Regions from separate parts of the Homo sapiens genome. Here all the other regions are linked to region 1. Evidence: promoter capture Hi-C in 16 types of primary human blood cells and fetal thymus (Javierre and others, 2016). All regions are on one chromosome and are shown on one strand. Each heading gives the region's core, a stretch centred on a gene start or on the middle of the fragment in contact. The rest is flanking DNA. Distances are from core to core; before and after follow the strand shown.

The links. The method cuts DNA at HindIII sites, captures the fragments that hold promoters and counts their contacts. A CHiCAGO score of 5 or more calls a contact.
Region 2: a fragment that was not itself captured here is called in contact with the fragment with the promoter of RNASE4 in region 1 in 3 of 17 cell types (naive B cells, total CD8 T cells and activated CD4 T cells); the score reaches 5.8 in naive B cells.
Region 3: a fragment that was not itself captured here is called in contact with the fragment with the promoter of RNASE4 in region 1 in 15 of 17 cell types (M0 macrophages, total B cells, megakaryocytes and 12 more); the score reaches 12.4 in M0 macrophages.

Annotation. Positions count from the first base shown.
Region 1 is chr14:20,683,194-20,687,141 of GRCh38, forward strand. RNASE4 (ribonuclease A family member 4) reads left to right here and starts at 1,367. Exons shown (of 2, transcript NM_002937.5): 1 at 1,367-1,565. TRY-GTA5-5 (tRNA-Tyr (anticodon GTA) 5-5) reads left to right here and starts at 80; the gene lies at 80-168. It overlaps TRP-TGG3-2 (tRNA-Pro (anticodon TGG) 3-2), which reads left to right and starts at 823; the gene lies at 823-894. It also overlaps a transcript of ANG not described here. RefSeq lists enhancers at 1-58, 259-448, 589-718, 1,519-1,658 and silencers at 849-898, 1,169-1,288. The HindIII fragment of the contact is 4,966 bases long and covers 1-1,887 here.
Region 2 is chr14:20,638,216-20,641,936 of GRCh38, forward strand. OR6S1 (olfactory receptor family 6 subfamily S member 1) reads right to left here and starts at 3,476. Exons shown (of 1, transcript NM_001001968.1): 1 at 2,481-3,476. The coding sequence starts at 3,476. The coding sequence ends at 2,481. The HindIII fragment of the contact is 2,233 bases long and covers 335-2,567 here.
Region 3 is chr14:20,620,580-20,624,741 of GRCh38, forward strand. No RefSeq gene overlaps it. Among named protein-coding and RNA genes, the nearest start is that of TRL-TAG2-1, 2.7 kb to the right of the region's middle. RefSeq lists an enhancer at 2,699-2,838. The HindIII fragment of the contact is 1,319 bases long and covers 2,087-3,405 here.

The DNA.
Region 1 (3,948 bases), core at 117-2,616:
ATAAAGAGATTTCTTTCTTTCCCGTCTCTGGTTAAGGATGTCTCGAGTAGGGATTTTTAGGAGAGTTGTTTCCGTGCTTCCTTCGATAGCTCAGCTGGTAGAGCGGAGGACTGTAGTACTTAATGTGTGGTCATCCTTAGGTCGCTGGTTCGATTCCGGCTCGAAGGAGACGCTGCTGTTTTGGGGTTTACGGTTGCTCTTCGTTTGTGCAAAAAATCTCTGTATCTTGACGTGATCAAATCTGTTTCTGTCTCTCACCCTTGTCCGAAGGAAACAGCTTAGCCGCGAGGTGGGCTGCGTTAATCGCGTCTTGAAAAGTTGGTTACCTTTCTGAAAGATAGTAGACCCGAATCGTCCCACCGTTGGGGGAAGGCACTGTTGTCTTACCGAAGTGTGTTATATTTTGGCTTCTACGTTAAGTCCAAAGGCCGGCAGATATATACGTATCGCGCGTCTGTCCTGGGGCTCAGTACCCTACAGCCTTGCAACCGAGCTCAGCTCTGGCCCTCGATCTCTATTTCAGCCCCCTCCAGGTTCCCTCCAGGCCCTAGCGGGCTTAAATCGCTCCCCGGGCTCAGTGAGACACAAGCATGTGACCTAAAGTCTAAAAAGCTGCCTTCCTTCACCCCATCCTGCATCTGGATCGAGGAGAATAAGCCAGAGAATAAGCCACACTTGAAACTTGGTGAAGATGGAAGGAATAACTAAATAAGGCCTAAGGGAAATGTCACAACAGAGGAAAAGAAACAAAACAAAAAACCTTCAGAACAGCAGGCGGAAAAGAGAAATTCAGAGTGATAGGAAGCACCACTCAGCTACAGTGGCTCGTTGGTCTAGGGGTATGATTCTCGCTTTGGGTGCGAGAGGTCCCGGGTTCAAATCCCGGACGAGCCCTCGTGGCTACTGTTTTTCCACCCCCTTTTGTCAACTACTGAAAAAAAGTCTCCGTTAAATTTGAAACACAAACTGTCTCGCGATGGGCTGTCCTGCCAAAGAAAGCAGCAGCGAATAAGTACGTGGCAGATGGTGCTGTCGACCAGTGTCAAGACCAAGTTTCATGGGTTCCTGGACGCTCAGCCAGGGGTAGTCTCTGAAGGGCCGCCTGGCAATTGGGAGCAGAAGCCAGTTTCCCGCCATCTGCTCTCCGTGGAGGCAGTGCTCTCGCGGCTGCTGCCCGTTGGGGTCCAGCTGAGGAAGGAGCGCGGATCCCAGGCTCGTTCTTTGCCTGGGCTGCCCCTGCGGCCCCTGGGGCGGGTGCTGCTGCGGCGCCAGCTCCAAGGGCGGATCCAGGCGGGAGGGGCCTCCTCGGAGAAGCGGGGCGCGGTCCCAACTACGCAGAGGCTGGCACGCCGACCCTCCACACCTCACCACGCCCCCATCTCCGTCCGTGTACACACACTCACACAAGGACGCCAACCCCACCTAGATGCAAAGCAGGATTCAAAAGAACATCTTTGCGTTTTCTACCGGCTCCCCATCATCGTACTAGGGAGGAAGAAGCGGGTGAGAAACAAAACTTCTTTCCATTGTCCTGCCCGTTTCTGCGGACTTGTTCTGAGGCCGAGGTAGGTTCACACTCCTGCTCCTCCTCCTCCTCTCTGGTAGCTTCATAAGGGGCGTTTAGGCCGGGGAGTCCTTTCCTAGTAGAGGCAGCTTGGGACTCCTTGGGGAGGAGTTTGCGGGACGGGGCTGGAGAGGGAGGAATGGGGAGGGACGTGAAAGTCCCGTATTTGTATGAGTTAACGACTTTACATTCCCACTCAGGTTTACTTTGCGCAGCTGGGCACAGATGCCAGCTTCTATTGATTAGTAGGCTTGGAGGGGGACCACAGAATCGCCGAACCTAAGGGAAGCCCTAGGAGGCCTGCACTTGCCCACAACTAAGAAAGCTTTGCTAGTTATTCAGGCTAATCACCAGCTTTTTGAAGCAGGCCTTAGTTTTTTGCAAGCGTAACTAACATTTGGGGATCGGTGTTTTCTGTTTACTCTCCTCTGCCTCCTCACCCTTAACCCACCCTCAGCCAGTGTTGTGCAATTCTTAGAGACACTTGCCAACAGCCTCTTCTCTAAGCCTTCCTACTGGAAGGTTGGGATCCTCCGTTTTCTCGCTCTGAGACAGCACGTCAAATGCTAATAGCAGCACATGAGTAAAGCGCAACATCTTTATTAAAACAATTTCAGCACCACTCAGGGGGCTAGGGAAATCTCAGATGAGCCAAGACCCTCCCTCGTGACAGTAAAAATCTTATAATCAAGTCATAATGTAATCAGTAGAAACCCAAGGGACATCATTATCTGTGGCACAGGACCACCTTCCCAGAAGCAGCCTCAGGTATTCAAGACTTACTTAACCACAGAGCCACTAACAAGTTTTGCAAGAGGATAGGTTTATTACATACGCTTCAATTCAAGCAATTCTTTTACTGATGACAAGCAGAGTAAAATAATTTTTGAATTTATGGTAATAGTCAATGTAGGTTTCCTTCGAACAGCAACTTTCAGTGGCCCCTTTAAAGTTAGCTCTGATTGTCTAGAAAGTACTAGTATGGAATATAAAAGTTGTGTGGGCCCGGCACGGTGGCTCATGCCTGTAATCCCAGCACTTTGGGAGGCCGAGGTGGGTGCATCACAAGATCAGGAGTTCGAGACCAGCCTGGCCAAGATGGTGAAACCTCGTCTCTACTAAAAATACAAAAATTAGCCGGGCACGGTGGTGAGCACCTGTAACCCCAGCTACTCGGGAGGCTGAGACAGGAGACTCTCTTGAACCTGGGAGGCGGAGGTTACAGTGAACAGAGATTGCGTCACTGCACTCTAGCCTGGGTGACAGAGCAAGACTCCGTCTTAAAAAAAAAAAAAAAAAAAATTGTGTGGTGCATTGGAAAGCTTCCAGGCCGGCGAATGCAATGAGTTCCTTGGGCAATACATGTCTCTTTCTCTGTTCCTCAGTTGGCTCTTCTTTAATATGAGGGGTGGACAGAGTCTCAGAGGCCCCTCCCACTCTTGTTCTATGACTCCATGGAGTGGTACGATGTTAGTAACAGGACATGAGGCACTCTAGTAATGTGGAGATGAACTATCGTTTGGCAGAGAGGATGGAAAAAATCATTCCAGGAAAAGAGGAATGGCTTTAGCTATTGTTGAAAACAGATAATCAGGTTATAAGCAGGCAAGAGTAAGAGGTTTGTCAAGTTATTGTTGGAAGCATTGGTCACTGTGACTCAAATTAAAGTAGCTGGATAAAAAAGTGGACCAATGAAGGTCAGTGAAACCTTTCTTTAGGAGTTTTTATTGAATCTGTATTTAAGCAGATTCTCTGTAATTCTCTGTAAACAGTTATTCCCGGAAGAATGCCATGAAATACTTGGGAAAGAGGGAATGGGAACAAAGAGTGAGTGGGCACAAAGCCCAGAGTTGGTTGAAAAGCAAATGTTTAATTTTTGTCTTTGTTTGGAAATACAGGCATGTCAGCAGGACTTTGTCCCCACTGTCCTTCAATCAGTAGTGTTGCCTCTTCCTGGAGACGTGGTTCTTCTTGCCACGTGTGCTTTTCCTTCTTTACCTGTTACTTCCGTTATTGAATAAGTTCATGCTTATAGACCTAAAGTGTTAGAATAATAAAGAAATATAGAAATTATTTAGTCCATTCTTCCCATCATCTAATTTTATAATTAGTCCTAAGACAGAATGATACATATATACTCTGTATGAAGGAGGAAAGTGCTCTAACACTAGGGTCCTTGGAAACAGGACCCGTGCATCCCGTGTCTGTGTGCAGGGACATTATTGGCTTGAGGGAGAGAGAGAAAAAAATCTCCAGGAAAGGGGAATGACTTTCAAGTTAAAGCTGTCTGAACATTTAAAAAATATATGAGGTTTTTTGCAATTGGCGATTCCTTCATTTGTATTAAAATTACTGACAAAGATGTGATGTTCCTTAATCATAGA
Region 2 (3,721 bases), core at 201-2,700, 45 kb before region 1:
GAAAATGGATGGTTTAACATGCTTTATTGCCATAATATGTGGCAATTACTTCAAGAAATGCTGTAAATTGTTGCATGAATTCCTTTCCTTGGCCAGTGGCTGGAATAGACTTCAGATTTTTATGTTTCATGAAACTAGGTAATTTTTAAGGCGATATTTCATCTCCTCTCTGGGCAACACTTCTAGATCACTCCAGAAGAGTTATTTTTACCTTCGAATCATTCTTTCCATTCCTTTAGTACTCAGAAATATTTTGGAATAAAATTATCTAGTGTGTTTGCATGCATTATGAATAGAACTAGATAAAAACATTTCTATTTTCCATGCCCACTGAAGCTTATGGCTAACTCTTTTGACGCTAATACGCACTTTGCCAGTTTTGCAGCACTATTTTGAGTTTAGTATGCTGTCGATACCTTGATATTTACATGTTTTGTACATCGTTCCTATGTACACACACTCTAACGTGACAAATCCTGTTTAATGAATGATGACCTCTGTGAAAATTTCTCTAACAAGAAAATGCACTGGGAAGAGTAAACCAATTTTTATAAGATCTCCAATGTCCTTTTGTAAATCTCCTTCTCATCCACATTTCCTTAAATTATTATCCGTCCCTTAGTTCTAAACTCTAAAGTTCAAGCTGCTTGAGGTTAGAAACAATTTATTCTTGTTCATCTTTGTATATATTCATATATCACAGTGTTCAACAAAGATTCTTCACAGACCTTTGCTGAATGAATGAATGAATAAATAAATAAATAAATAAATAAATAAATAAATAAATATTTGTTTCCAAGATTTCCAAAGGGATTTCCATGAATAGGAATCCCTTTTCAAATGTCCAATAAACTAGACAAAATTTACTACAAAGTTTGGTTCTTGGTAGATACAACAATATTTGGCATTTGGCATTCTTTTTTTTTTTTTTTTTAGATGGAGTTTTGCTCTTTCGCCCAGGCTGGAGTGAAGTGGCACGATCTTGGCTCGCTGCAAACCTCCGCCCCCTGGGTTCAGTGATTCTCCTGCCTCCTTATATAATGCCTCCTTATATAATGAAATTATATGAAATTACCCTTTTTGGTAGCTGGGATTAAAGGCGCCCGCCACCACGCCCGGCTAATTTTTGTGTTTTTGTAGAGGCGGGGTTTCGCCATGTTGGCCAGACTGGTCTAGGAACTCCTGACCTCAGGTGATCAGCCTGTCTCGGCCTTCCAAAGGGCTAGGATTACAGGCGTGAGCCACCGTGTCCAGCCTATGTGGCATTCTTAACTCTTTAATATTAAAGCTCCTTATTTTACTAAAAACAAAAGAAGATTTCACACAACAGATACAAGAATGTAAAAAGATGAACAAATGAATGAAACATAATCCAATGACAAAACGAGTGGAGATGTCTTTATCAATGTACTAAAGTGCACACTAGAAGAATACAGTAAATGCTATTACTCATGAAATCCCTCACTGATCTGCTTTCCCAACAGCACCTGGAATTACCACAGAGAAGTAATTAAGTCCCTTTATTAAATTTGCTTCACCTCTTTTTCCTCTAGCATTAAATGTAAATTTTTCTAACAAGCATGTACAAAAATATACAGATAATCTATTTTTATTTCATTTTATATCTATAAGGAATTTTTTCTTAAAATTCTTGACTTGCATAAACAGTTGGAAGGCTCTACTTAGACTTGCAATCAGTTTTTAGCTTTTGAGGAGAGTGCACGAATGGATTCAAATGTTGAATTAAAGCTACAGTCCCTCTTCTCAGACAAATGCATATATATTCAAGCACATAAAATTTAGATACCTATTGGGCATATAAATTTTCTGAAACCCATCCTTAGATTCCCTACATGACCATGGACCCATAGGTTAAGACTCACAGGTTGGAAGGTCTTAGGAAGTGGCGATGATATTGATCACGATATATCAATAATAATAATAAGTATTATTATTATTAGGTATGATCTAGGATCAAGAAATTTTGCCTGAAAGAGAAGAAGGTGGATTGATGACCTGAGAATTCATTAGTAGTTCCAGAATTCAGTCTTTTGGTGATATCCATAATGAAGACGGAAAGGAGCATGATAATGAGAATATTTGGATTTTAAAATATGATTTTTAAAAATGACAACAAGACCAGGTGTGGTGGCTCACACCTGTAATCCCAGCACTTCGGGAGGCTGAGGTGGGTGGATCACTTGATGCCAGGAGTTTGAGACTAGCCTGGTCATCGAGTGAAACCCCATCTCTACTAAAAATACAAAAATTAGCCAGGTGTGGTGGTGGGCACATGTAATCCCAGCTACTCAGGAGGCTGAGGCAGGAGAATTGCTTAAACCCAGGAGGTGGAGGTTGCAGTGAGCTGAGATCGCGCCACTGCACTCCAGCCTGGGCGACAGAGTGAGACTTTCTCTCTCTCTCTCTCAAAAAAAAAAAAAAAAAAAAAAAAAAAAGACTAGTTACTAGACTCTTCACTTTTACTTTACTGCTTTCTCACTGAGACATTTATCAAGTAAAAGATTCCCTAAAACGCCTGCCACTACCTTCCTAAACATGTCCTTCAAAGCTTCCTTGACTTGCTCATTACGTAAGGCATAGATGAATGGATTCAACAGTGGTGTCACAAATGTCGTTATTACTGTCACTGCCCAGTTAGTGTCCACAGAACCACTCTGCGATGGCCGCACATAGAGAAAAATGGCACTTCCATAGAAGAGGGTCACCACTATCAAGTGGGAGGTACAGGTAGAGAAGGCCTTCTGACGGCCTGAAGCAGAGGGGATGCTCAGGACTGCCAGCACAATGAGGCCGTAGGACACAGCAGTGATCAGCAAGGAAGATACAATGACGAGGGAGGCCAGGACAAAGTCAGTCTCCTCCAGCTTCTTGGTGTTGGTGCAAGCCAGGCGGAGCAGTGGGCCACTGTCGCAGAAGAAGTGCTGTACCACAGCACCCTGCTTACAGAAAGGAAGCAAGGCCACAGCCACTGTGGGACCAAGCACAGGGACGAGTCCCCCCACCCAGCAGGCCAAGGCCACACGAAAGCACACAGCCCCACTCATGAGCAAGGGGTAGCGCAGAGGATGACAGATGGCCAGGTAGCGATCCGCAGACATGACAGCCAACAGTAAGAACTCGGAGGCCCCGAGAAAGAAGTAGAAATAGAATTGGGTGATACATGCAGCAAAGGAAATAGTGTGTTGCCTTGAGAGGAAATTGCTCAGCATCTTTGGAATGATGACAGAAGTGAGCAGTATCTCTAGGCAGGACAGGTTACCCAGAAAGAAGTACATAGGGGTCTGTAGTCGAGTATCAGCCCTTACCACCCCCACAATCAACACATTGCCTGTCAGATTCAGGAGATAGACAAGAAGAAACACAGAAAATAATTCCACTCTTGCGCTGTTGAGATTTGGGAGCCCTGCCAGGACGAACTCTGTTGGATCACTACTGTGGTTCCCATCAGGACTCATTGTCTTTTTCACCTGTCCAACAACAAAAACATGATCCTGGTAAGAGCAGGTCCTCTGCTTACAGTCCTGAAACTTACTTCATCATGATATGGGACTCATATCCCCAGTTTATCCAATTGCAGGTCCTGTTAAGATCTGAAGCACTTAAGGTCATCATCTGATTGATTTTAGCACTAGAGAAGATTTTCTCTAAAGGGTAACAAAACTTAGGTATGAAAATGCCAGGAGCCTCCATCTCCTCCATC
Region 3 (4,162 bases), core at 1,496-3,995, 61 kb before region 1:
CTTTTGGGGAGTTTGTTAAGATTCTGATTCAGTAGGCCTGAGATTCTGCATTTCTAATCTGCTACCAAAAGATGCTGATGCTGCTGGTCCCCAATCACACTTTGCATATTAAGGCCTTAAAGTAAATCTCTTGCTTATCTATAAATTTTCATCATCTGAACTATTAACAAGGTATGGATAGCAAGAAATTCAAGGTTAAACTCTCCGACAATATTACAGAATGCTAGAGCCTAGAATATCAGCATTCTGTGCTGAAGACTGAAGGAATAGACATGTGCCAGCCAGACGAACACATTGCATGTATTTGTATCAGGCATCTTTCCAAAAGGGTGGTTATCTATTTGCTTTAGATATTGGGCAATCAAGTATGCAGCAAATTTGGCATTCTACTAGGAAAGCCAAGACACCTGGCTTATGGGTCTCAGGGCACTTACTGTTTGAGCTGTGCAATCCAACATGTGATCCACTTCTTGAAAGGAACAGGCCAAGTTTCCTCCCTCCCTACTGAAGGATCCTGTGAGCACAAGGTGGGAAATAGGTACTCCAGCAACACTGAATAGGAAATTGAATAGGAGAAGCTATGCCCACTTGTTAGCAAAGGAACTTCAGCCAGGAACAGGAGAGTGTGGTACTTTCTTGATAAGAAAGTGCTCTGACGCCTGTCAGTTTGAGGAATTTGAACCTGCAGCATTCCAGGATCAAAGAGGGCTCTGCTGTGATGATAGGTTCTTTCCTGTTGACTGCTTCCTTTTATTGCCTGATCTGGCACTAAAACAGATCAAAATGAGCTCAGGCCACTTCCATCACTTGAGAATCTTCATATTTAAAAAAAAAAAGTCAACACATAGAGAAACTATGGGTTATTTAAATGAGTATTATGATTTTTTTTGTTTATTTGTTTTTGTTTTTGTTTTTAAATGGAATCTCTGTTGCCCAGGCTGGAGTGCAGTGGTGCGATCTCGGCTCACTGCAACCTCCATCTCCTGGGTTCAAGCGATTCTCCTGCCTCAGCCTCCTGAGTAGCTGGGATTACAGGCACATGCCACCATGCCCGGCTAATTTTTGTATTTTTAGTAGAGACGGGGTTTTGACATGTTGTCCAGGCTGGTCTCGAATTCCTGACCTCAAGCAATGTGCCTGCTTCAGTCTCCCAAAATGCCGAGATTACAGGCGTGAGCCACCACACCTGGCCAAATGAGTATTGTCTTCGTTCGTTTTGTGTTGCTGTAATAGAATACATGAGGCTGAGTAATTTAGAAAGAAAGAGGTTTATTTAGCTCACAGTTCTGCAGCCTGGGAAGTAGGAGAAGCATGTTACCAGCATCAGCCAGGCTTCTGGGGAGGGCCACTACACTAGGTCAAAACAAGGCAGAGAAGGTCAAAGGGGAAGCAGACACATACAAAGAGAAAAAAAGAAAAAAAAAAGTGAGGGCCTCTTGGCTGTATAACAACCCACTCTCCCAGGGAACTAATCCATTCCCAAAGGAAGTAATCCAATCTCACCAGAGCCAGAACTCACACACTACAGAGAGAAGGGCACCAAGACATTCATAAGGAATTTACTACTGTGATCCAAACACCTCCCACTAGGCCCCATCTCCCAACACTGACACATTGGAAATCAAATTTCGACATGAGTTCTAGTGGGGACAAATTAACCATATTCAAACCATAGCAGGTATGTTTATCAGACTAGCACTGAAACACAGAGACATAAATGTGACTGTAAAATCTCATCTGGAGAGCTCATCAAAAGTTTCAATATGAGACCCATTCATGTGCCCTAAGTCTCTTATTGGCTCAATTCTAGGTATAATAGCTCAACAGATATTTTAAATATTTGTTATCTCCCCTCCCATTCACCCTGCACAGCTCTTTCAAGTCGTAAAGAGCCCCAGGATCTTTCTTTTTTTCTTTCAAGCTGATGCTTCCCCGGCCTGCACACTGAGATGGTGGCACAGGATTCCTAGGATTCTCTCCAGCTTAAGAAGAACATTAGTCTTTCCACTTCTGACCCTGGCAAAGACTTGCGTGTACTGATGGAGGCAGTAAGCTCACACTCCTTTTCCCCTAAGGCTTCCTCCAAAGCTTGAAAACACAACGTGAAATTTCTTAGTAGTCATACATTCAGCCAAAGGGGCTGGCGACGGGTATTTTAATCTCTCCGTCTTAAGTGATGCGTAGGAGGCCATATCTTTGACCATCCTGCTGGATTCAAAACCTACGAGATGCTGCCTGCTGGCCTTGGGTGCTGACTTCCTCCTTCTAGGGAGAAAGAGACCTGGTCAGGGCCAACGGTGGGTACCCAGTGAGCTTAGATTGCCGGTGAGCTGGAGGTTGGTGAGGAGGGTGCTGGCGCCAGAGGGTGACGAGGCGTGAAGAGGGGGATGTAACACGGGGTGAGTTTGGGAGGCACCGCGGGGAGCCCGGACTAGAGTTGCGGGGGGGCGCGGGAGGAGAGCCTGCCTCCGACCTCCGAACGTCCCTGCCCTTTCCTATGCCGCCCCCGCTTCCCTGCCTGGGTTCTACGTTTATGCGGTGCTCCCTGAGCCCTATTTTAAAGCTGCTTTTTAAGAACTTCCTTTCTGCTCGCCTCCCCCAACTCCTGGCAGCGGTGACCGTGAACTCGCAGGACCTTCGCCCCCGCGGAGACCCAGGGAAGAACGCTTTTTTCCTCTCTATTCGCCCTCAACCTGACCCGCTGGGCCACCAGGGCTTGGGGAGAGACCTCAGAGGCCTAGAGCCAGGAGAGGCGAGAAAGGGTTGTGGTTTTTTTGAGTGATTGAGATGGGGGACAGAGAGAGCACTTAAAATTAGGCAACTTTAATTAGGCTCCCAGGAGAATTTCTGGATCCACAGACCAAGAAAACAGCCAAGTGGGAACAGCAGCAAAGAATATAAATAATACATAATCCAGGGCTTTGCGCCGAGTGGGGTTGTTCGCAGGTCAGTGATTCCCACTTTGGGTGCGGGAGACCCCAAGTATCACCTCTGAAACCGTTTTCTAGCTTTCCCTCTGCTCCTTTAGAAAGAAATGTTACAACACATGAAATAGATGCAGAAAAGGCTTTCTGTAAAATTCAACATCCCTTCATGTTAAAAACCCTCAATAATCTAAGTTTTAAAGGAACATACCTCAAAATAATAAAAGCCATGTGTGACAAACCCACAACCAACATCATACTGAATGGGCAAAAGCTGGAAGCATTCCCCTTGAAAACCGGCACGAAACACGGATGCCCTCTCTCACCACACGTATTAACATAGTATTGGAAGTTCTGACCAGGGCAATAAAGCAAGAGAAAGAAATACAGGGCATTCAAATAGGAAGAGAGGAAGTCAAACTCTTCCTGTTTGCAGATGACATGATCCTGTATCGAGAAAACCGCCTCATCTCAGCCCAAAAGCTTAAGAAAGCTGACAAGCTGCCGGGTGGGGCGGCTCACGCCTGTAATCCCAGCACTTTGTGGGGCTGAGGCGGGTGGATCACCTGAGATCAGCAGTTCGAGACCAGCCTGGCCAACATGGTGAAAACCCATATCTATTAAAAATACAAAAAATTAGCCGGGCGGGCGTGGTGGTGGACGCCTGTATTCCCAGCTATTCAGGAGGCTGAGGCAGGAGAATCGCTTGAACCCTGGAGGCGGAGGTTGCAGTGAGTCGAGATGGCACCACTGCCATGGGTGTTGCCTATCCAGCCTGGGCGACAGAGACGCCGTCAAAAAACAAAACAAAACAAACAAACAAACAAAAAACAGCAGGCAAGTAGAGAGCCAAATTAGGAATGAACTCCCATTCACAATTGCTTCAAAGGGAATAAAATACCTAGCAATACAGCTAACAAGGGAAGTGAAGGACCACTTCAAAGAGAACTACAAACCACTGTTCAAGGAAATCAGAAAGGACACAAACAAACGGAAAACAGTCCATGTTCATGGATAGGAAGAATCAACATCATGAAAATAGCCATACTGCCGAAAGGGAGGGAGAGAGACAGAGAGAGAGAGAGAGGAAAGAGGGAAGGAAGGAGAGAAAGAAAGAAAAGAGAGAGAGAGAGAAAGGAAAGAAAGAAAAGAAAAGAAAAGAAAAAAAGAAAAGAAAAGAAAAAGAATGAGCAGCACCAGGGCTCCAGGGAAGCCCGGGACCACCCTTTCTGCGCTGG